Regions from separate parts of the Homo sapiens genome. Here regions 1 and 3 are each linked to region 2. The links are contacts of gene promoters, found by promoter capture Hi-C in blood cells and fetal thymus (Javierre and others, 2016). All regions are on one chromosome and are shown on one strand. Each heading gives the region's core, a stretch centred on a gene start or on the middle of the fragment in contact. The rest is flanking DNA. Distances are from core to core; before and after follow the strand shown.

Region 1 (3,113 bases), core at 252-2,751, 120 kb after region 2:
ACTATCTTTGGTTTCTATTGAAAATTCAGGTCTGGCAACACATATGTCCTGTGTGGTAGCAACCAGCCGGAGCTCACTGCTGGCTGCCCTTCGGACAGTCCCCACCCAGCCAGCTTTATCCATTTCTGGTATCTGCCTTTTCTGGGCAGCTGTGTTGAGGTCTCTTGTTTAGACTGAAAGGCGGGCCCATCCAGCCCCAAAGCATTTTGTGTATCCCTGCCTCCACCGGGGAGGCCTCTAAATGAGAGAATGGACCAGGGCTGGCTGGTGTGTAGTGGTCTTCCAGCCAGCCATTAGGTGACAGGCTCCAGCGGGCCAGGTCTCGGGCACCCTGCACCCTTCCCCCCATCTGTCCTTGTAGCCATCACAGCTCAGTGAGCAGCCTCCGGGTAGGACTTCCAGCCCATAAACTTGACTCGTCTTTGCTCCACACTAGCAACAGGGTCCTTCCTGGGAGCTGGAGGGAGGAGAGAAGCAGCTGGAGGGCACGTGTGGCAGTGAACGTGGAGATGCCAGCAGCAAGGAGAGGGACTCCCCCACACCCCCAGGCCTGAGGCTGAGCCCAGAGGAGAGGGAAGAGGAGTCTGGGCAGAGTCTGGCTTCTCTGTGGCTCTCATCTGTCCCTGTCCTTCCCGTCATTCCCTGGTCTCAGTCCTCCAGTGTCATGGCTCTGCTGCCACATCCTGGGGACAGGGGGAGGGGTCCTGGGTCCTGTGGGAACTCCTGCTTCTGTCAACAGGGGAGCAGCTGCTGTTGCTAGGATCCAAGTCAATAAGGAAAGGATTCATACCTCTCCCCTCCTCCAGGACAGGGGATCAGGGCCCCATGGCTGCCCTGAGCTGAGAGGAAGGAAGATGCTCCCCTTCCTTCCCAGGTTCCCCCAGCACCCTGAGCCTGGGCCTCCAAGGCCTTATGCCCCCTTTCCCCTCCCCTAAGCATGTTTTCTCTTTCTCAATCTCTTCCAGTGCCCTCCACCCAGGATGTCTTTTCCTCTCTAGAGGCCTTGCAGTTTCTGTTCCCTTTCCCAGGGCATCATCAACTCTCTTAAGTCCCGTGAGACTCAGGGTCCATTACCCCAAACCTGGCCTGAGCTGGAGCTCCCAGCCCTAATCGGAATGATTCCCCCCAACCCACCTCCACTAGAACAGCGACAAAGGCAGGGAGCAGCCCCCAGGGGTGATTTCCCAGCAGGGTGCAGGCTGTACCACCTGCACACCCCCGAGGGTCTGGTGGCTTGGGCTGGGTGTAGTAGCCTCTCCAGGATCTGGGGTTTGGGGGTTTGGGGGAGTAGCTACTCACATGGCTGTTGGGAGCAGGTATTGCCTGCCCAGCCTGGGCCTTCCTGAGTGTCAGGGAGTTGCTGCAGCCAGCCCTGCAGCGGTTTGGACCATGTCTGGTGTCCTGGCTGAAGAGCACAAGTGGACCAAGTGCATGGTGTCTCCACCCAGTGGGGACAGCGGGGCCAGGCTCTCCTACCCAGGCTCTGCCCGTCTGGGTTCTCAGAGGGATAGAGAAATGAGGCTGGCAGGACTCAGCCCTGGCCCCGCCTCTGGGAGGGTGGGACCTGACATATTCCAAACTGCAGCAACTGGGAGGCCTGCCTCCCCCTCCCACCCAGTTCCCCTCTCCCCCTGCCACCTAGGTGGCAGTTTCCCTACTCCAGCTCGGAGTAATCTGAGAAATGCATTCCAGTTAATGAATAATAATGATTGACTTACCCCTCCCGACTTCCCGCCTCAGCTGATGCATTTACATTTAAGCCCCTGGACTGGCCAGCCAGCTGACAGCACACCAGGCTCCCTCCACACTTCCGTGTGTGATGGTGGCAGTGGCAGGTGTTTGGGGCCTGAGGATCTTCACTCCCCCATCCCATCACCTGATGGGCCTTTCAGTTTCTAAGGCCAGACTTGCCTTCCTGAATCTGGGGTCATTCCACACTTTTCTCAACTGCTTTCTGAGTCAAGTTCTGAACTATGAGGGACAAATGGCTCTGGGGATGTGACCATGGGTAAGGTACTACTGGGCCTCGGTTTTTGCCTGTGTTAAAATGGGAACAAGAAAAACCACCTCTAATTAAGGTCGTGGTGGGGAATATCACAGGATAACACATATGGCGGCATATACCCCAGTGCATGGCCCTTGATGGGTGGGGGTTTGCCCCAACAAATGGCTCCCTCTCTTTCCTCCCCCATGATGAAGAGGCATGAGCTGGCGCTGGAATCAGAGCTGTCTGGATCCTTTTTTAAAAAAGCCAGTGAACTTGGGCAAATGACTAAAGTTCCCTTGCCTTAGTTTCCTCATCTGTCAAATGGGGCCCATAGTTGTACTCACCTATCGTGAGACTAAATGAAGTCCCGTGTGATGAGGACTCAGATCAACACTTGGCCCTTCAGCACTCCGCGACAGGCAGCGATCGCTGGGAACATTATTAGGATTTCTGCCTTTCTCTGCACCTGGCCCCTCTAAGACAGATCTGCTGAGAGGGGCGCATGGGGAGCTTGGGAAAAGCAAGAGGGGAGTGACACTCTTGCTGCACAGGGAAGCTGAGGAAACCAGATACATTGAGAGGGAAGGGCAAGTTCAAGGCTGGGAAGCCAGAAGTGGTGCTTTGATTTCCACCTTGTATCAAGTGCGGCTTTGGAGTGAGGGGGAGGAGAGAAGCCCAGCCACACTCCCTTAAGGCCTGAAATGGGAGGGAACAGGCGGAAATTGCAGCAGGAAAGCTGGGACTGGGGGTGAGACATTAGGAAACACTTGCTGGCTGAAGAGCGCAAGTAAATGGAGCAAAGGGACTCTGGTGCTCTCCGGGAGAGCTGGGCCTGAAGGGCTGGAAGCCCGTGGAGTGTGGCTGTGCCAGCTCTGCACAGCCAGTCAGGGATCCTGGAGATCAGGGACTTCTGTTGGGACAAAAAGTGGGAAGAGGAAAGCATCCAGCCTCAAGTCCATCCTCGAGGGAGCTGGTGGGTCGGAAGGACGCAGGGTTCCAGGGCCGGTCCTCAGAACCACGGGATCTGGTCGGGCAGAAGTCACAGGCTCTGGGAGAGTTCAGCCTGGGGCCTGGACAGAAGTGGGTGTGGGACCCTTCTGATATGTGACTTCCAGGAATAAACAGA
Region 2 (3,312 bases), core at 141-2,640:
AGTAAAAATACAAAAATTAGCCTGGCATGGTGGTGCATGCCTGTAATCCCAGCTACTCGGGAGGCCGGGGCAGGAGAATCGCTTAAACTTGGGAAGCGGAGGTTGCAGTGAGCTGAGATCGCGCCACTGCACTCCAGCCTGGGCTACAGAGCGAGACTCCATCTCCAAAAAAAGAGAAGATACTGGAAATGCAGGTGACAGCATCCTAGATGCTAGATGCCAGCCTGCAGCCTCCTTCACTTCTCCCTATGCCCTTTCCTAAATGCTATAACATGTCCTCAAGGCTCCAATCCCAATTCCCCCTGGGCCTCTTTTCCTTCATAGGAAAGCTGAGATTCATTGAGAAAGTCATTTAATCGCTTTTAGACAAATACTGAAGCACCCCAGCTAAGCACTGGGGACGGAAGCAGGAAGGGGCAGTTGCCACTGTCCACCACTGCTGCTCAGACCTGGAAGGGACTTGCCACCCATGATCATAAGGAGACCCCATTCTCCAGCCCATGGGATCCTTCAGGATCCTGTCAATCTTGCAAGCCCCCAGGAAGTTTCCAGCATCCCACCGGTTTTGTGTCTGGGATGGGGATCTTCTCACTCAGGTAGGTCTCTCTGGGAGGTGCTTGCTGTGGCCCTGGGCTGGTCGGGCTGGTCGGGCTGGAGATGGAACCATAGCTGGACCCGCTTAGCCTTTGGGGACCCTTGTCACCTGTGGGGGCCCATGAAGCATGGTGAGTGTCCTGCCTCTTTCTGGTGGCCCAGAGTTAAAGCCGCCTGATCCTTTCCCTCCTCCTCCCGGAAAAGTGGAGAAACTAAGGTCCCTGGCCCCCATCTTGGGTCCATCACCTCCACCTCTCAAACAAACATTCCAGATGTGTGGGACATGGCAGCTTCAGAATTACTGTCCTCTCATGTGAGGACAGATGCCCAGAGGCAGATCTCCTGCCACAGAGAATGCAGAGAGACCCTAGGCTCTAAGAAGGGCAAGCTGAGGCCACATGTCTGCCCCTTGGCTGGACCCCTCACCTTCTCCGGCAGCCCAGAAAGCTCCAGGGGCTTTGATCCACGGACTTCAGACAAAGGAAAGGTAGACCGCTTAGGGGTGTGAAGGACTCCACCCAGTGAGATTGAGTCTGGTGTCCAGAACTGTGTTCTAGACTAGGACTCCCACGGGGGACCAGAGGCTTCCACAGGGGACCAAGGGCTTTCTTGCTTCCTCAAGTCTCCACCAGCCTAGTGATCTCCTCCACTCCACCCCCCAATCAGGCTCTGTCCCTAGGGGCCACTACTCACCTGTCATTGAAATGCCGACTTCAGGTACTCTGGGAGTGTGAGCGGTGCTCTGGGCAGCTCCTCAGCCTGCACCCCCTCTCTGGGCACTGGTGCAAGTAAGTGTGCCAGCCCACGCCCTGTTACCCATCCGCAGCCGAGTGCCCTGCCTCTTACATCAACATTCGGTTCACATCGGCCGATTCACACACACACACAACATGGGGCGTTGTGAAACATTTTCCAAAGGCAGAAGTGGCCAGCCCTGGCGGAAGGGTCTGGTTACCCATGGAGTGGACCTTTGTTCCCCTCCCAGCCTGCCCTGTGCCCCACAACACATCTGTTCCCCTTCCAGGCACCCCGTGTTCTGTGCCTCCCAAGTTAGCTCTGATTTCAGATGCTTCCTGCCCCTTGCGTATTCATGTCAATACCCCATGACCACACCCCCCTCTGCCACACACACACACACACACGTACACACACACGTACACACACACAGAGTCAGGTCTTTCTTATTCTCTTTGATCTGGAGTTCCAAGACCCCTCGTTGGCCTAATGCGAGTCTTCATGTCCTCAAAGGCTTCAGTTTCCCTTTGAGGGCCACAGAGGAAGGCACTGCAGAAGGGACATGCATTGAAGATTCAGACCCAGGACGTCCCCAGAAGATGGGGCACTGGGATCTGGTCCTGGTTCAACCACTGATTCACTTGAGATTGTCACCAGATCATGTCCCTTCTCAGAGTTGTTTATTCTATTCCACCCCCACCCTTTTTTTTTTTGGTTTTTCGTTTTTTGTTTTTTTTTTTAGAGACAAGGTCTCGCTCTGTCACCCAGGCTAGAGTGAGGTGTGAAGTGCAGTGGTGCCATCTTAGTTTACTGCAGCCTCAAACTCCTTTTTTTTTTTTTTTTGAGACAGAGTCTTACTCTGTTGCCCAGACTGGAGTGCAGTGGCATAATCTCAGCTCACTGCAACCTCTGTCCTCCATGTTTAAGCAATTCTCCTGCCTCAGCCTCCTGAGTAGCTGGGACTACAGGCATGCACCACCACACCCGGCTACTTTTTGTATGTATGTATGTATGTATGTATTTATTTACTTTGAGATGGCGTCTTGCTCTGTCACCCAGGCTGAAGTGCAATGGCGCGACCTTGGCTCACCGAAACCTCTGCCTCTTGGGTTCAAGTAATTCTTCTTCCTCAGCCTCCTGAGTAGCTGGGATTACAGGCACCTGCCAACCACACCTGGCTAATTTTTGTATTTTTAGTAGAGATGGGATTTCACCATGTTGGCCAGGCTGGTCTCAAACTCCTGACCTTGTGATCCGCCCGCCTCAGTCTCCCAAAGTGCTGGGATTACAGGTGTGAGCCACTGTGCCCAGCCAATTTTTGTATTTTTTTTAGTAGAGACGGGGTTTCACTATGTTGGCCAGGCTGGTCTCGAACTCCTGGTCTCAAGTGATCCACCCACCTCAACCTCCCAAAGTGCTGGGATTACAGGTGTGAGCCACCATGCCTGGCATATAGCCTTAAACTCTTGAGCTCAAGAGAGCCTCCCTTCTCAGCCTCTCGGGTAGCTGGGAATACAGACCTATGCCACCATGCTTGACTGTTTCTTCTATTAACTGAGGGGCTCACAGGAGTTTGAGACCAGCCTGGGCAACATAGTGAGATCTCATCTCTACAAAAAATTTAAAAATTAGCTGGGCATGACCGGGTGTGGTGGCTCATGCCTGTAATCCCAGCACTTTGGGAGGCTGAGGAGGGTGGATCACGAGGTCAGGAGATCGAGACCATCCTGGTTAACATGGTGAAACCCTGTCTCTACTAAAAATACAAAAAAAAACCCAATAAACAAACAAACAAACAAAAAACAATTAGCCGGGCGTGGTGGCGGGCTCCTGTAGTCCCAGCTACTCAGGAGGCTGAGGCAGGAGAATGGTGTGAACCCGGGAGGTGGAGCTTGCAGAGAGCCGAGATCGCGCCACTGCACTCCAGCCTGGGTGACAGAGCGAGACTCCGTCTCAAAAAAAAAAAATTTGCTGGGAGTGATG
Region 3 (3,134 bases), core at 46-2,545, 95 kb before region 2:
ACTAAAAACCCTTTTGAGCACATGGGAGGCTTTTCAAGTGTTCAGGTTGGAGTGCAGTGATATCCTGGCTGCTCTGAGCCACACACTATGTTTGGGCTTATCACTGACCACTTGCCTCTTTTCTTTGATCTACATTGCTATGTAATCTTCCTGATTTCCACTCTGGCCTCTTATTTCTTGGTGCCATTAGTCTATATGTTTATTTTCAGTTTTTACATTCAGGTTAATTGTATTTTCTAGTTTTCATTTTATATATATTTTTTGTATTGCATATGAATTTGTGTTAACCTCCATCAAAGAAAGTTCTTGTTCTTTGACCTTTACCACTTTTTTCTTTAGTTTATTTTCGGCTTACCTAGAAGACAACACAGTAACACCTTACTTATCTGGCATCATTAAAGGATTCCACATAAGTGAATTTTTATATAACTGAAGCTTACCTTTTAACGATTTATCTTTTAAAAGATTTTTAACAGTTTGGATGAAAATGTTTCTAAAATATGTTACACTGTTCCTTACATTCTTAAAATAACTAAGGATAATTTAAGTATATCTTAATGACTTAGAATCAGCATTTTAAGTATCAATTATTGCACTGTGTTTCAATATGATATTGCCCTCAGAGGCTCTTAATTATTACAAGATAGTTTGCTTTTACATTAAATGACTTTATAGTTCTTGTTTGCCTTTCTTGTGGTTATTCTTTCTCATTTCTTAGCTCTCATTTCTTGATGAACTTGATACACTATTTTATTCACCATTTCCTGGGAAAGAAAGGGTCCCTCTAAGTACATGGGCTTTGGAACTGCCTTCCTCAGAAGCCTTTTTTCTTACTTTGGAATCCCTATGTTCTGGAAAGTAGAGGTTGCCAGAAGTCTGACCTACAGATAAGTGGATAAGTGGAATGTTACTGTTATTTTTAAAGTGCATGGATCATAATTTAAAAGATCACAAATTAGTCTTCATGCACTTTGTTGTCAAAAACATTTATTCATTGCTATGCCTGCATGAATTCAATAGCATAATTTATAAAGACAATAGCAAATTTCATTGGGGTTGATCATTAAAAGAAAAAAGGCACAACATGATTAGTTTACTGATGATACGTAGTAGCATAAGAGTTGTCCAGTTTTCAAAGCATGGCTCTTTTGGAGTGGGGCAAAGGTAATGCTGAAATATACCTCTTTTGATATATCTTTTTTTTCTGTTAAGTAATTTTCCGTAATGGAAAAGCAATTTGTTTTGATATTTTTACAATAAAAGAATAACAAAGACAAATGTTTATCAGGCTTTTTTTTTTTTCCTTAAATTACAGGAAATTCACCTTCAAATCCAAGAGCTCCTTGGCTTTATGCCTTGATTCAGACAGTGAGGATGAGCTAAAACGTTCTGTGGCCCTCAGCCAGAGACTTTGTGAAATGTTAGGCAACGAACAGCAGCAGGAAGACCTGGAAAAAGTAAGTAATATTTTCTTAAAACATCTGACAAAGATTTGTTTATCTCTTACTGTCCAAACAAATGTCTTTCATAACCATCATCAAACTAATTAGTTTTAAAGAAAATGCCTTCTCTGGCTACAGAAATCAGTCTGTTTACAGATGGATCAAGACTTACGAGAAATTCGTTGTTCTAAACAAATTACTTTCTTTTTTTGCCCTTCAAAGCTACTTTTGCATATTCGTCCTCAAATAATTACTTGCTTTATTTTGGTAGCAGTTTTTTAAGACAGGGTATCGCTCTGTTGCCCAGGCTGGAGTACAGTGGTGTAATCACGGCTCACCACAGCATCGTTCTCCTGGGCTCAAACAATCCTCCTACCTCAGCTCCCCAAGTAGCTGGGACTACAGGCATGTACCACCATGCCTGGCTAGTTTTTAAAATTTTTTGTAGAGACAAGGTCTTACTGTGTGACCTAGGCAGGTCTAAAATTCCTGGGCTCAGGTGATCCTACCACCTCAGCTTCCCTAAGTGCTGGGATTACAGGCATGAGCCACTACTCCCAGCCTGTAGCAATTGTTTATGTGAGGGAACTGTAGTAAACATTTTACATCAACAGAGCAACCAAGTAATCTAATTGTTTAAATTATGGATTTATTAATTGGATTAATATATAGATAATTATATGGATAGTTAATACTTTGAAGATCTAAGCTTTTCTAGGTGTTTGCATTATCTTATGCTACTGTATTTTATTTTAAGCCTCCCTTTTAAATAATAGAATTATTTTAGTAGTTATTTTTGTTCTGTTTCCTATCTTACTTTAAAGCCAGAGGTAGTTTGTGGTTGTTCAACTTGAATGAGAAATGTGTGAAAGTCCAAAATTCTCCCAGAAAACAACTTTTGAATATTTACATAATCTTTTTTTTTTTTTGAGACGGAGTCTCACTCTGTTGCCCAGGCTGGAGTGCAGTGGCACGATCTTGGCTCACTGCAGTCTCTATCCCCCAGGTTCAAGTGATTCTCCTGCCTCAGCCTCCTGAGTAGCTGGGATTACAGACGTACACCACAACATCTCCCTAATTTTTGGGTTTTGGTTTTTTATTTAATTTATTTATTTATTTATTTTTGAGACAGACTCTTGCCCTGTCACCCAGGCTGGAGTGCAGTGGTGTGATCTTAGCTTGCTGCATCCTCCACCTCCCAGGTTCAGGCGATTCTCTGTCTCCCTAGTAGCTGGGACTACAGGTGCGTGCCACCATGCCTGGCTAATTTTTTTGTATTTTTAGTAGAGATGGAGTTTATCCATGTTGGCCAGGCTGATCTCGAACTCCTGGCCTCAAGTGATCTGCTGGCCTCGACCTCCCAAAGTGCTGGGATTACAGGCATGAGCCACCACGCCCAGCCTAATTTTTGTATTTTTAGTAAAGACGGGTTTTCGCCATGTTGGCCAGGCTGGTCTCAAACTCCTGACCTCAGGTGATCCACCGCTGGGATTACAGGCGTGAGCCACCTCGCCCAGCCTTCTTTACATAATCTTGATGTCGTGTTTATTTTTCTCATTTATTGTTAATAAGATCAGCTAACATTTATAATGGTGTAGTAGGCATAATGATAGAATATTTACTGTATAATCTATATATATCTGGAAGAAAATAAATTGAAAATACTTAGAGTAATTATCTCTGAGTAATCTA

The links. The method cuts DNA at HindIII sites, captures the fragments that hold promoters and counts their contacts. A CHiCAGO score of 5 or more calls a contact.
Region 1: a contact is called between the fragment with the promoter of GPBAR1 here and the fragment with the promoter of SLC11A1 in region 2, in 1 of 17 cell types (monocytes). The highest score is 5.2, in monocytes.
Region 3: a contact is called between a fragment that was not itself captured here and the fragment with the promoter of SLC11A1 in region 2, in 1 of 17 cell types (naive CD8 T cells). The highest score is 5.9, in naive CD8 T cells.

Annotation. Positions count from the first base shown.
Region 1 is chr2:218,259,403-218,262,515 of GRCh38, reverse strand. It overlaps GPBAR1 (G protein-coupled bile acid receptor 1), which reads right to left and starts at 1,501. Exons shown (of 2, transcript NM_170699.3): 1 at 1,300-1,501. RefSeq lists an enhancer at 249-1,054. The HindIII fragment of the contact is 11,967 bases long and covers 1-3,113 here.
Region 2 is chr2:218,380,351-218,383,662 of GRCh38, reverse strand. SLC11A1 (solute carrier family 11 member 1) reads right to left here and starts at 1,390. Exons shown (of 15, transcript NM_000578.4): 1 at 1,288-1,390; 2 at 561-703. The coding sequence starts at 1,294. The HindIII fragment of the contact is 6,449 bases long and covers 1-3,312 here.
Region 3 is chr2:218,475,163-218,478,296 of GRCh38, reverse strand. It overlaps USP37 (ubiquitin specific peptidase 37), which reads left to right. Exons shown (of 26, transcript NM_020935.3): 19 at 1,316-1,457. Among named protein-coding and RNA genes, the nearest start is that of VIL1, 58 kb to the right of the region's middle. The HindIII fragment of the contact is 1,716 bases long and covers 438-2,153 here.